Linked DNA regions of Homo sapiens: region 1 is linked to region 2. Evidence: promoter capture Hi-C in human tissues and cell types (Jung and others, 2019). All regions are on one chromosome and are shown on one strand. The core of a region is centred on a gene start or on the middle of the fragment in contact, and the rest is flanking DNA. Distances in the headings are between cores, read along the strand shown. Region 1 has its middle 46 kb from the start of LINC02729. Region 2 holds the start of MYOD1 (myogenic differentiation 1).

Region 1 (5,042 bases), core at 1,252-3,751, 69 kb before region 2:
TTAAACAGAACATGGCTGTTAAAGTGAACTAGGTTCAAAATCCTGGTTCTATTATATGGCAAGATGTTTTGACTAAGACATAAGGAAGTTTTTATAGCCATTGCTGGCTATATAGTATCCCTGGCTGTTCATTCCTCACCTCATCACCCTTCCCATCTGTTTGTGTCCAGTTACGGGAAAGCAGCTTTTGAACAGGCCACTCCTCATCAGCTGTTGCATAGACAGAGGCAGAGGGCACCAGGTTAAGTCAGCCAGCCTTGGCCTAAATGTCTTTCTGCAGTCTCAATTCGGGAGGGTGGCTCCAGGCTTTCAGACACCTGTTCCCCACATCTGACCCATTGTTGGTGACACAGTTTCAGTAGCCTGGCCCTCCTTGGCTCCAGTTGGCAGCAGTTCTCCAGCCCTCCTGCTGTACTCCCACTGTGTCCTCTCAGATGGCCATAGCTCCTGGTGATCACACCCTACTGTGGGAGTCCCAGCATGCCTGGATGTTCCCCCCGGCCACCTCACCTCCACTCCCGCTCAGACAACCCCCCCGCCTACTCCTACTGGAAGCCAACTTCTCACTCTAAATTTTTGGTCAAAATTCCCAGTTCTATTTTCCTAGATCCCTCCTGAAGATACTGACTTTTTTTTCTTTCAGGGTAAGACAATTTAGTGAAAGATTAATGAGAGGAAAATCTCCAACCCTGTCTTGCAATGTAGGGAAGGCAGGAAACAGTGAAGACTTTGAACCTTAATTAGTGTTGTCCATTGCCCTCCAAAAAGCCAGTGCCAGCAGTGTTAATGCGAGTGTTCATATCAAATAGATACAATTTGTAGATGGTGATTTAAATGTAAAATACACATCTCCTTTAACTAAGTCATCCTATTTCTAGGTAGCTATGGAAGGCTGAATAGTGGTCCTCCAAAGATGTACAAGTCCTAATTTCTGGATCTTGCGAATATTTATATTACATTACATGGTAAAAGGGACTCTGCAGACGTGATTAAGGATCTTGAGATAAGAGGATTATCCTGGGTCATCCAGGTGGGCCCGGTGTAATCACAAGCGTCCTTATATAAGAGAGGCAGCCAGGTCAGAGTCAGAGAGAGGAGACGGGATGACAGAAGCGAGGTTGGAGTGATGTACTTTGAAGTTAGTGTAAGGGGCCACTGGTCAAGAAATCCAGGCAGCCTCTGGAAGCTGGAAAATCAAGGAACTGGATTCTCTCCTAGAGCCCCCAGAAGGAACACAGGCTGGCTGGCCCCTTGATTTTAGCTTAGTGAAGCTGATTTCATACTTCTGACCTCTACAACTGTAAGAGAATAAATGTGTGTGTTTTAAGCCACTAAATGTGTGGCAATTTGTTACAGGAGCAATAGGAAACAGATAGCATCAAAAGAAAGAATTCCTGCAGAGGCATGCGCCAGGATGTTTATTGCGGCATTGTCCTGAGTGTTAAAAATTAGTAACAACTGCAAATGCCTGTCAGTAGGGAAGGATTAAGCAACCTGGTACAGCCACACTCGTGAATATTATGTAGCCCTTTTGGGTACTGACATGCTGAGCTCTCCAGGATATGTTAAATGATGACAGGAAATTGTGGGTTGTTTCACACAGAATGATCCCTCCTTTATGCACCTGTGTGGGTAATACACACACACATACAACACAACACAACACACACACACACACACACACACGTCTCATTCCCTTGAAGAGTTTTCAAGATTGAGGAAGGTCCTTCCTGGCTGTTGAGCCACCAACTAGTTCAGTGGCAACTTTGGTCCTAGAATAGCCTTTTCAGATCCCAGGAGATCATCAGAAGAGACTAGAATAGACTGAAGGCCCTAGGGACATCTGTGGCATCTCCCCCATTCCTGTTTCCTCCCACACTCTGTGCATTACTTAAAGCTTGAGGCAACTCCAGTGGCCACACACAGCTGAGGAAACAGAAAGCCAGGACCAGCAGAGCCACTGAGAGATTGGTGGCCGAGCAGGGTGGCTGCCCAGCTTGCAGCCCCCTGTGACGTATTTGCAAACACGAGGAGTTTTGAGCTGCAGAACCATCCCATTCTCCGTGGTGCAGGCTCAAGTTCCCGCCCTGATTTTCTGGGCTTAATCCTCTTCCTGTGGAAATCAATAAGGACATTGTGATGGAATGATTCACGTTCAAGGTCAGGCCGGAGCAAATTGGAGGCGACATGCTGATTTTACTACCCTCACTGTGAGGAGAGCCAATCCTGCTCACAGACCCCCTTAACCCTTTCCTTGTCACTGTGGTAAGCACTGTCTGCACAGGCCCCCTCCCCAGGCCCAGATCCCCCTGGCCTCACCCACGTGTGGCGCTTTTGTTTACATTTTCCCAAGCCTCTGACCACACAAGGCCTTGGAGTCTTGCACACTTGTCATGGTGGTTTGGGGAAGGCAGACGACAGGTTCAGGAACAGCTTCAAATTGGAAGTCAAACGCTACATATCTAACTTCAGCTTCATGGGTAACATCCTGTTCCTCTCCCTTCACCAGAGCTGTTCCCCTTCCAACCCTCTTTTCTGAGTTCCAGACCCCTCTTCCCTGCTTTTCTGGGTTGTCCCACATGGGGAGGTAGAGGAGAGGGGACCAAATTCCTCATTTATTTTTTTCACACACAGCAAGGCTCAAACATGATAGAAGCTTATTCCTTCCTCCTATTTAAAAAAAACACTCAAAATAAGTAGGTAGCTAGAGCTTTGTGTCCAGAATGATTTAGGGATCCTGGCTCCTCTGTCTTGAGGTTCTACCACCTTCAGCACGGGCCTCCCAGAGTCTCTGTGATCTCAGGCATCAGCCAGCCGAGGTGCAGGGAGAGCATGTGCGGGAAGCTTGCAGGGCCCAGGACTGAAAGTGGCTCACTCCCTTCCACTCGGATTCCACTGGCCTGAACTGGCCACATCTCAGTGCAAGAAAGGCTGGGGAACGTAGTCCAGCTGTGTGCCCAGGAAGATGGGTCTGGTGGGCAGTGCTGTCTCTGTGAGGAAGCGGAGAGAGTGAGGAGGACAATGCTAGAAAGTGTGACTGGAAAAGAAGAGATAGAGCATGAGTTAGGGGAGGACTTGAGGTAGGCAGTGATTTGACTGTATGCCCTGGAGAAGCCAGTGGAAACAGAAAAGCTTTGCTGTGGAGAAAAGTCAGGGTCTCAGAGGGCCATAGCTGGCATGAGGAGGGACAGTGATGACACAGATACCTCTGGCTGGGCAGACCCCACCTTAGGTCTTTCTTTATCTCTGTTTCCAACATGGAACACTGAGGACACTGGAGAATAAGTGTGAACATACCTCTAAGCTTGAAGGTGAGGAGCCCAGACAACAAAGAGTTAAAGGGTGCAGGGGTGGGCAGAACCGGGGAGCCAGGTGCTCCCTAACATACTGTGCGGTGCCAGTTAATCCCCTGCAGCAGGCAGGAGGCCTGCACAGCTGTCTCTCCCGAGCTGGGATTGCATGCTTCCCCCTCCCTCTGCCACCTCCCTGATGCCCCCGGCCCCTTGCCCAGAGAACACAGCACCCCAGGGATTGGGTGGGGGTGGGTGGAGATGGGCAGGCAGCATGCTGGGTAACTGGTCCAGCCCCTGAACCCTTGGACAACTCTTTCTCTAGAGATAAACCATTCTCTAGGCTTGTTTCTCACTGGCCATGAAGACCGTACCTCTCCCAAGCCAGCCAAACCCAAACCTTATAGCTGGTCCTCCTACACAGTGTCCATTCCTGCCTCTGTGTCTTTGCCTCACCTGGAGTGTCCTTTTCCTCCTCTCCCTCGACAGTCCCTGCCTAGCCTGCAGAGCAGCTACAACACAGCAGCACCTAGGAGCCCTCCCTTTGGCCTCTAGCCCCCCAGCCCTAGTTTCTGCTTGACTGGGGCTTCCCATGCCAGCCTGTGCCTGTGCTCTGCCCAGGGAGGGGAGATGCAGGTCTGGCTCCAGCAGTCATTCATTTATTCCCACGACATCTTCATTCATAACAGATGAGGCTGCTAAGGCTCAGAGAGGGTAAGTGACTTGCACAGCTTGAGAGTGGAGGAATTAGGACTCAAGCTCACAACTGTTTAACTCCAGAGCCCACACTCACACTTTCTTTCTCAGCCCAGAAAGAGACTAAGAAGATTGCTGGGTGCCTGGGAGCTCTTCCTCCCTGTTACTCCAGGCTCCTTCTTCCTGGAAGCCAGAGGGAGCAGTGGAAAGAAGGTTCTAGTTTCTCTTTGGCCAGTTAGCAGTTGTAGAACATTGGCAAATTTTAAGCCTCAGTTCCCCATGGTGAGGAGAAGCAATAGGTTCTGCGACAGAGTTGGCAAGAGGGTCAAGTGAGATCATGGATGGGAAAGGGCTGGACAACTGCAGAGGCTGTGCTCATATGTGAGGCTGCTGGGCTGAGCCAGGGAATCCCAGCCCAGCTGGGACCAGAGCAAGAGAAAAGCAGGCTCAAAGAGCCGGACTCAGTCCCAGCCCACCCTCCATCCAGCAGACTCAGGGCTCACTGCTAAGCCTTTGCCTCTGTGTGCCCTATCCAGCTATGCCATCTTGCCTCTGTTCCACTGAACCAGATCACCATTTACGGATCCTTGGAGCTGATCTTCGGGATCTAGTAAAGGGCCTAGATTGTGGGGTAGGTTCTATCTCTGAACAGCTGTATGATTTACACTCTCCAAGTCTCAGTTTCCTCATCACCAAAATGGAAATGAGAGTCTGGCAAAGTGATGGTGAGAATGTTTATAGATAGAGTCCTGGCCTATGGTAGGCATTTAATAAATGGAGCTATTGTTTCCACTATGAACCTTCTTTCCTAAACCTTTAGGAATATCTTTAAACTCCTCCTTTTCAGGATTAGGAAACTGATCCCAGGGAATGACAGTGACTCACCCAGAGTCTCACTGCAAAGTGAGCAATGGTGGAGGCAGCGCCAGACTCCAAACCGAGTGCCCATTCCATTGCCTCTGCCAGAGAATCTTCCCTGAGCTCCAACCTAGGGTGGGCCTCCCTGTGCTGACCTTACAGCCTCTACTATCTGAGTCGCCCACTAGGCCTTCCAAA
Region 2 (5,495 bases), core at 1,457-3,956:
TGCCTAATCCACACTTCCATCTGGATATCCGATATGCATTTCAAATTTTGCCCAAACCTGGACACTTAATCTACCACCCACAAACCTAGTCTTCTCAACTCCATTCTTGCAGGAGTCATCCTTAGCTCCTTGCTTATCTCACTTCCCACATGCAATCGTGAGTAAATACTGCTAGCTCCATCTTGAAAACATATATCTAGAATTCAACCACCACTTTTCACCAGCTCCACTCACTGGGATTATTGCAATAGCCTCCTAATTGGTCTCCCTCCTTCTGCCCTTTCCCTCCAGTAACCAGCATGCTCCTGTTAAAATGTAAATCAGATAGTGATATTCTTCTCTTCCGCTCAAGCCCTCCAGTGAGATGGCTCAAGCCATCTCAGAATATAATCCTGTTTCTCTCTCTCTCACCCCATTTCCCACTATCTCTTTTACTCACCCTGCTGCAGACATATGAGCCTCCTTGCCATACTTTGAATCTGCCAAACATGGTCCTGCCTCAGGACTTTTGCACATGCTTATCCCTCTATCTGGCCCTACATATCTCCAGGTATCTGCTTCCAATTCTCTTCATTCAGGTCTCTGCTTAAATGTAGCAGAGAGGCCTTCTCTAATCACTCCATAATCTTCATCACTGTGTCTCCCTGCCTTGCTTTTTCTTCATAAGGCTTCTAACCTCCTGGCATCACATACTTCCTTGCTTATTTGTTCATTGTCTATCACCCTGCTTACATTGACAATGTAAGTGCCATGTAAGCAGAGTCTTGGTTTTGTTCATTGCTCTAGCCCCACACTTGGACTGGTACCTGCCACATAATGGATACCTAACAATATGTGGATTTCCGGGTGACCCCCTGCAGCTTGGGTGGGGTGAGGCCAGGACTTTGCTGCCTCTGCCAGGATTTAGAGTTACTGTCACTGCTGCTCCATGATGTAGACTTTACTGAATGAACAAATACAGGTGGGCCCTATGGAGTAAAGCGAGGTGAGTACTTCATGAAGGGAGACCTTCAGCACCACTACCAGCAGCAGAGAAGTGAAGAAGTTAGGACCCCAACAGAGCCCTCTGAGTTTTGTGGGAAGGGAGGACTTCTTAGGGCCCAGAACGGCCAGCTAGAATGCCTTCCAGAAGTTAGTGGGAAAGGCACAAAGATCACTCCTGCTTAAATTTCTGGTTTCCAGGAGGGGAGATCCAGGCAGGGATGTATGGCCAACGGAGATTCCTAGCCAGAGTGCTGAGAGGACTGTGTGAACTGCAGATTCAGGAAGAGGCTGAGAGACCCCCATGGGGGTGGCCGGTATGCTGAGGCTTGTATGGGAGCCAGATATCCCACATCCCATGGGGTGGTTGCCTCCTCCTGTTTCCAGCCTTTCCAGTGAGGCTGCAGGAAAGAGACACAGCTAAGGCCTGGAGACTCGTGGCACTCCGTCAGGGCATGGTACCACAGATGAGTTGTAAGCCTGCGGGACACAGCATCCAACTCTGAAAGCCCCTTGCTCGAATAACCCTACATCACCGCCTGAGGGCTTCCATATCCTTGGTCTCTTCAGACTGTCATCCCCACCACAATTACTCCAAGAAATTACTGTCATCCCCAAATCTATAACTGGAAACTGAGGCTCAGGAAGGAGACATGACTTCCACAAAATCACACAGTTGGGAAACTCTGGAGTCTGCACTCAACTGGTCTGCAAACCGCACTCTCGGAGACTTCAGGTGAGATGAGGTCAGGTTCTCAGGCCAGGTCCTGAAGTTTGACACCTTGGCGAAATGCACTTTCCTTGACTCAGCACCGCGAGTGAGGCGGAGCCAAGCCCCGAGCAGAAGGGTTTTCTTCCCAGCTGAAGAGGCAGCTCAGCCTAGACCCCAGGCATGGCACTGGACACCCCTGCTGTGGAAACGTGCAGATTTAGATGGAGGGGATTCCTAACCTGGGCAGGATCCGAGTTTGGAGAGATTGGCGCGAAGCTTTAGCAGCAATCTCCGATTCCTGTACAACCATAGCTGGGTTTCTAAGCGTCTAGGGAAGAAGGACTGGGCCCACGACCTGCTGAGCAACTCCCAGGTCGGGGACTGGCGGAATATCAGAGCCTCTACGACCCGTTTGTCTCGGGCTCGCCCACTTCAACTCTCGGGGTCTCTCCGCCTGTTGTTGCACTCGTGCGTTTCTCTGCCCCTGACGCTCTAAGCTTTCTGCTTTCTGCGTGTCTCTCAGCCTCTTTCGGTCCCTCTTTCACGGTCTCACTCCTCAGCTCTGTGCCCCCAATGCCTTGCCTCTCTCCAAATCTCTCACGACCTGATTTCTACAGCCGCTCTACCCATGGGTCCCCCACAAATCAGGGGACAGAGGAGTATTGAAAGTCAGCTCAGAGGTGAGCGCGCGCAGCCAGCGTTTCCCGCGGATACAGCAGTCGGGTGTTGGAGAGGTTTGGAAAGGGCGTGCCGGAGAGCCAAGTGCAGCCGCCTAGGGCTGCCGGTCGCTCCCTCCCTCCCTGCCCGGTAGGGGACCTAGCGCGCACGCCAGTGTGGAGGGGCGGGCTGGCTGGCCAGTCTGCGGGCCCCTGCGGCCACCCCGGGGACCCCCCCAAGCCCCGCCCCGCAGTGTTCCTATTGGCCTCGGACTCCCCCTCCCCCAGCTGCCCGCCTGGGCTCCGGGGCGTTTAGGCTACTACGGATAAATAGCCCAGGGCGCCTGGCGAGAAGCTAGGGGTGAGGAAGCCCTGGGGCGCTGCCGCCGCTTTCCTTAACCACAAATCAGGCCGGACAGGAGAGGGAGGGGTGGGGGACAGTGGGTGGGCATTCAGACTGCCAGCACTTTGCTATCTACAGCCGGGGCTCCCGAGCGGCAGAAAGTTCCGGCCACTCTCTGCCGCTTGGGTTGGGCGAAGCCAGGACCGTGCCGCGCCACCGCCAGGATATGGAGCTACTGTCGCCACCGCTCCGCGACGTAGACCTGACGGCCCCCGACGGCTCTCTCTGCTCCTTTGCCACAACGGACGACTTCTATGACGACCCGTGTTTCGACTCCCCGGACCTGCGCTTCTTCGAAGACCTGGACCCGCGCCTGATGCACGTGGGCGCGCTCCTGAAACCCGAAGAGCACTCGCACTTCCCCGCGGCGGTGCACCCGGCCCCGGGCGCACGTGAGGACGAGCATGTGCGCGCGCCCAGCGGGCACCACCAGGCGGGCCGCTGCCTACTGTGGGCCTGCAAGGCGTGCAAGCGCAAGACCACCAACGCCGACCGCCGCAAGGCCGCCACCATGCGCGAGCGGCGCCGCCTGAGCAAAGTAAATGAGGCCTTTGAGACACTCAAGCGCTGCACGTCGAGCAATCCAAACCAGCGGTTGCCCAAGGTGGAGATCCTGCGCAACGCCATCCGCTATATCGAGGGCCTGCAGGCTCTGCTGCGCGACCAGGACGCCGCGCCCCCTGGCGCCGCAGCCGCCTTCTATGCGCCGGGCCCGCTGCCCCCGGGCCGCGGCGGCGAGCACTACAGCGGCGACTCCGACGCGTCCAGCCCGCGCTCCAACTGCTCCGACGGCATGGTAAGGCCGGGACCCCAGGAAGTGAGGAAGTTAGGGCGGCGCTCGGGATATCAGGGACGCGTTTCCGAGGGCGGGGAGCTGGCCTTGCGGGAGGTTTGGGCCAGGATCCTTCCCGAGAGAGAGGACCCCCTTGTCCTGGGCAGCTGTCACTGGGGTAGCCTGTTTTGGAAGTGTGCGGGCAAGCGTTCGAGCTGCCCCATTGGGGGCGCTATTAGAACACTGCAGCGCGAACGTGAAGATCTTTTTCTCTACTTATCCCTACTTCCAAAATGTAAATTTGCGCCCCTTGGTGACTGTCCGCCCTTGGTTTGGCCCTGCATGTTGCAGACCTCATCTCCTACCCACCCGTAATTACCCCCCCAACCAGGACAGGTCTGGGCCCGGAACTAGAGCCTTAGGCTAGAGTTAGGGAGGGGGCGGCTACAGGAATTGGTGTTCGGGCCTCGAGCCGTCCCGCGGGCCTGACTCAGTCGCCCTTGCTGTTTGCAGATGGACTACAGCGGCCCCCCGAGCGGCGCCCGGCGGCGGAACTGCTACGAAGGCGCCTACTACAACGAGGCGCCCAGCGGTGGGTATTCCGGGCCTCTCCCTGCTCGCTCCTCCTCCTTCATGGAGCTGTCCTGGCCTCTATCTAGGACGCTCCCACCCCCACTCACACACGCCTATGTCCTGGGAAGTGGTGCAGGAGATGAAATACTAAGCAAGTAGCTCCCTGTCTTTTGGATTGTCCCGGACTCTAACTAAAGTCCTCAGTTTCCAATCTGTCTCAAAGTACTGGGCCCGGGGGTGGGAGGCTTGTCGCGGCCCCACCCCTGCTTACTAACCGAGCCCTCCCCGCGCAGAACCCAGGCCCGGGAAGAGTGCGGCGGTGTCGAGCCTAGACTGCCTGTCCAGCATCGTGGAGCGCATCTCCACCGAGAGCCCTGCGGCGCCCGCCCTCCTGCTGGCGGACGTGCCTTCTGAGTCGCCTCCGCGCAGGCAAGAGGCTGCCGCCCCCAGCGAGGGAGAGAGCAGCGGCGACCCCACCCAGTCACCGGACGCCGCCCCGCAGTGCCCTGCGGGTGCGAACCCCAACCCGATATACCAGGTGCTCTGAGGGGATGGTGGCCGCCCACCCGCCCGAGGGATGGTGCCCCTAGGGTCCCTCGCGCCCAAAAGATTGAACTTAAATGCCCCCCTCCCAACAGCGCTTTAAAAGCGACCTCTCTTGAGGTAGGAGAGGCGGGAGAACTGAAGTTTCCGCCCCCGCCCCACAGGGCAAGGACACAGCGCGGTTTTTTCCACGCAGCACCCTTCTCGGAGACCCATTGCGATGGCCGCTCCGTGTTCCTCGGTGGGCCAGAGCTGAACCTTGAGGGGCTAGGTTCAGCTTTCTCGCGCCCTCCCCCATGGGGGTGAGACCCTCGCAGACCTAAGCCCTGCCCCGGGATGCACCGGTTATTTGGGGGGGCGTGAGACCCAGTGCACTCCGGTCCCAAATGTAGCAGGTGTAACCGTAACCCACCCCCAACCCGTTTCCCGGTTCAGGACCACTTTTTGTAATACTTTTGTAATCTATTCCTGTAAATAAGAGTTGCTTTGCCAGAGCAGGAGCCCCTGGGGCTGTATTTATCTCTGAGGCATGGTGTGTGGTGCTACAGGGAATTTGTACGTTTATACCGCAGGCGGGCGAGCCGCGGGCGCTCGCTCAGGTGATCAAAATAAAGGCGCTAATTTATACCGCCGTGGCTCCGGCTTTCCCTGGACATGGGTGTGGGATCCGGAGGAAAATCCGCAAACTGGGCCAGCTGTCCCTCAGCGACGCCTGTAGGCGGCAGGCGGATTGCAAGGAGGAAGCCTGCTGCCTGGGGAAGGAAGGAGGGGTGCAAATTTCTCCAGTACGTGAGGAAGTTCCTCTGACCTTGACTACATTACTACACACGTCCGTGGCTCTTATGGAAGGGTACA

The links. The method cuts DNA at HindIII sites, captures the fragments that hold promoters and counts their contacts. A contact is called where the count stands out against the background at its distance.
Region 1: a contact is called between a fragment that was not itself captured here and the fragment with the promoter of MYOD1 in region 2, in 2 of the 25 tissues and cell types used here (H1 embryonic stem cells and pancreas).

The regions. Positions count from the first base shown.
Region 1 is chr11:17,648,397-17,653,438 of GRCh38, forward strand. No RefSeq gene overlaps it. Among named protein-coding and RNA genes, the nearest start is that of LINC02729, 46 kb to the right of the region's middle. RefSeq lists an enhancer at 2,066-2,566. The HindIII fragment of the contact is 3,454 bases long and covers 775-4,228 here.
Region 2 is chr11:17,716,865-17,722,359 of GRCh38, forward strand. It overlaps MYOD1 (myogenic differentiation 1), which reads left to right and starts at 2,707. Exons shown (of 3, transcript NM_002478.5): 1 at 2,707-3,548; 2 at 4,038-4,116; 3 at 4,391-5,272. The coding sequence starts at 2,919. The coding sequence ends at 4,644. RefSeq lists enhancers at 3,656-4,167, 4,168-4,679. The HindIII fragment of the contact is 9,376 bases long and covers 237-5,495 here.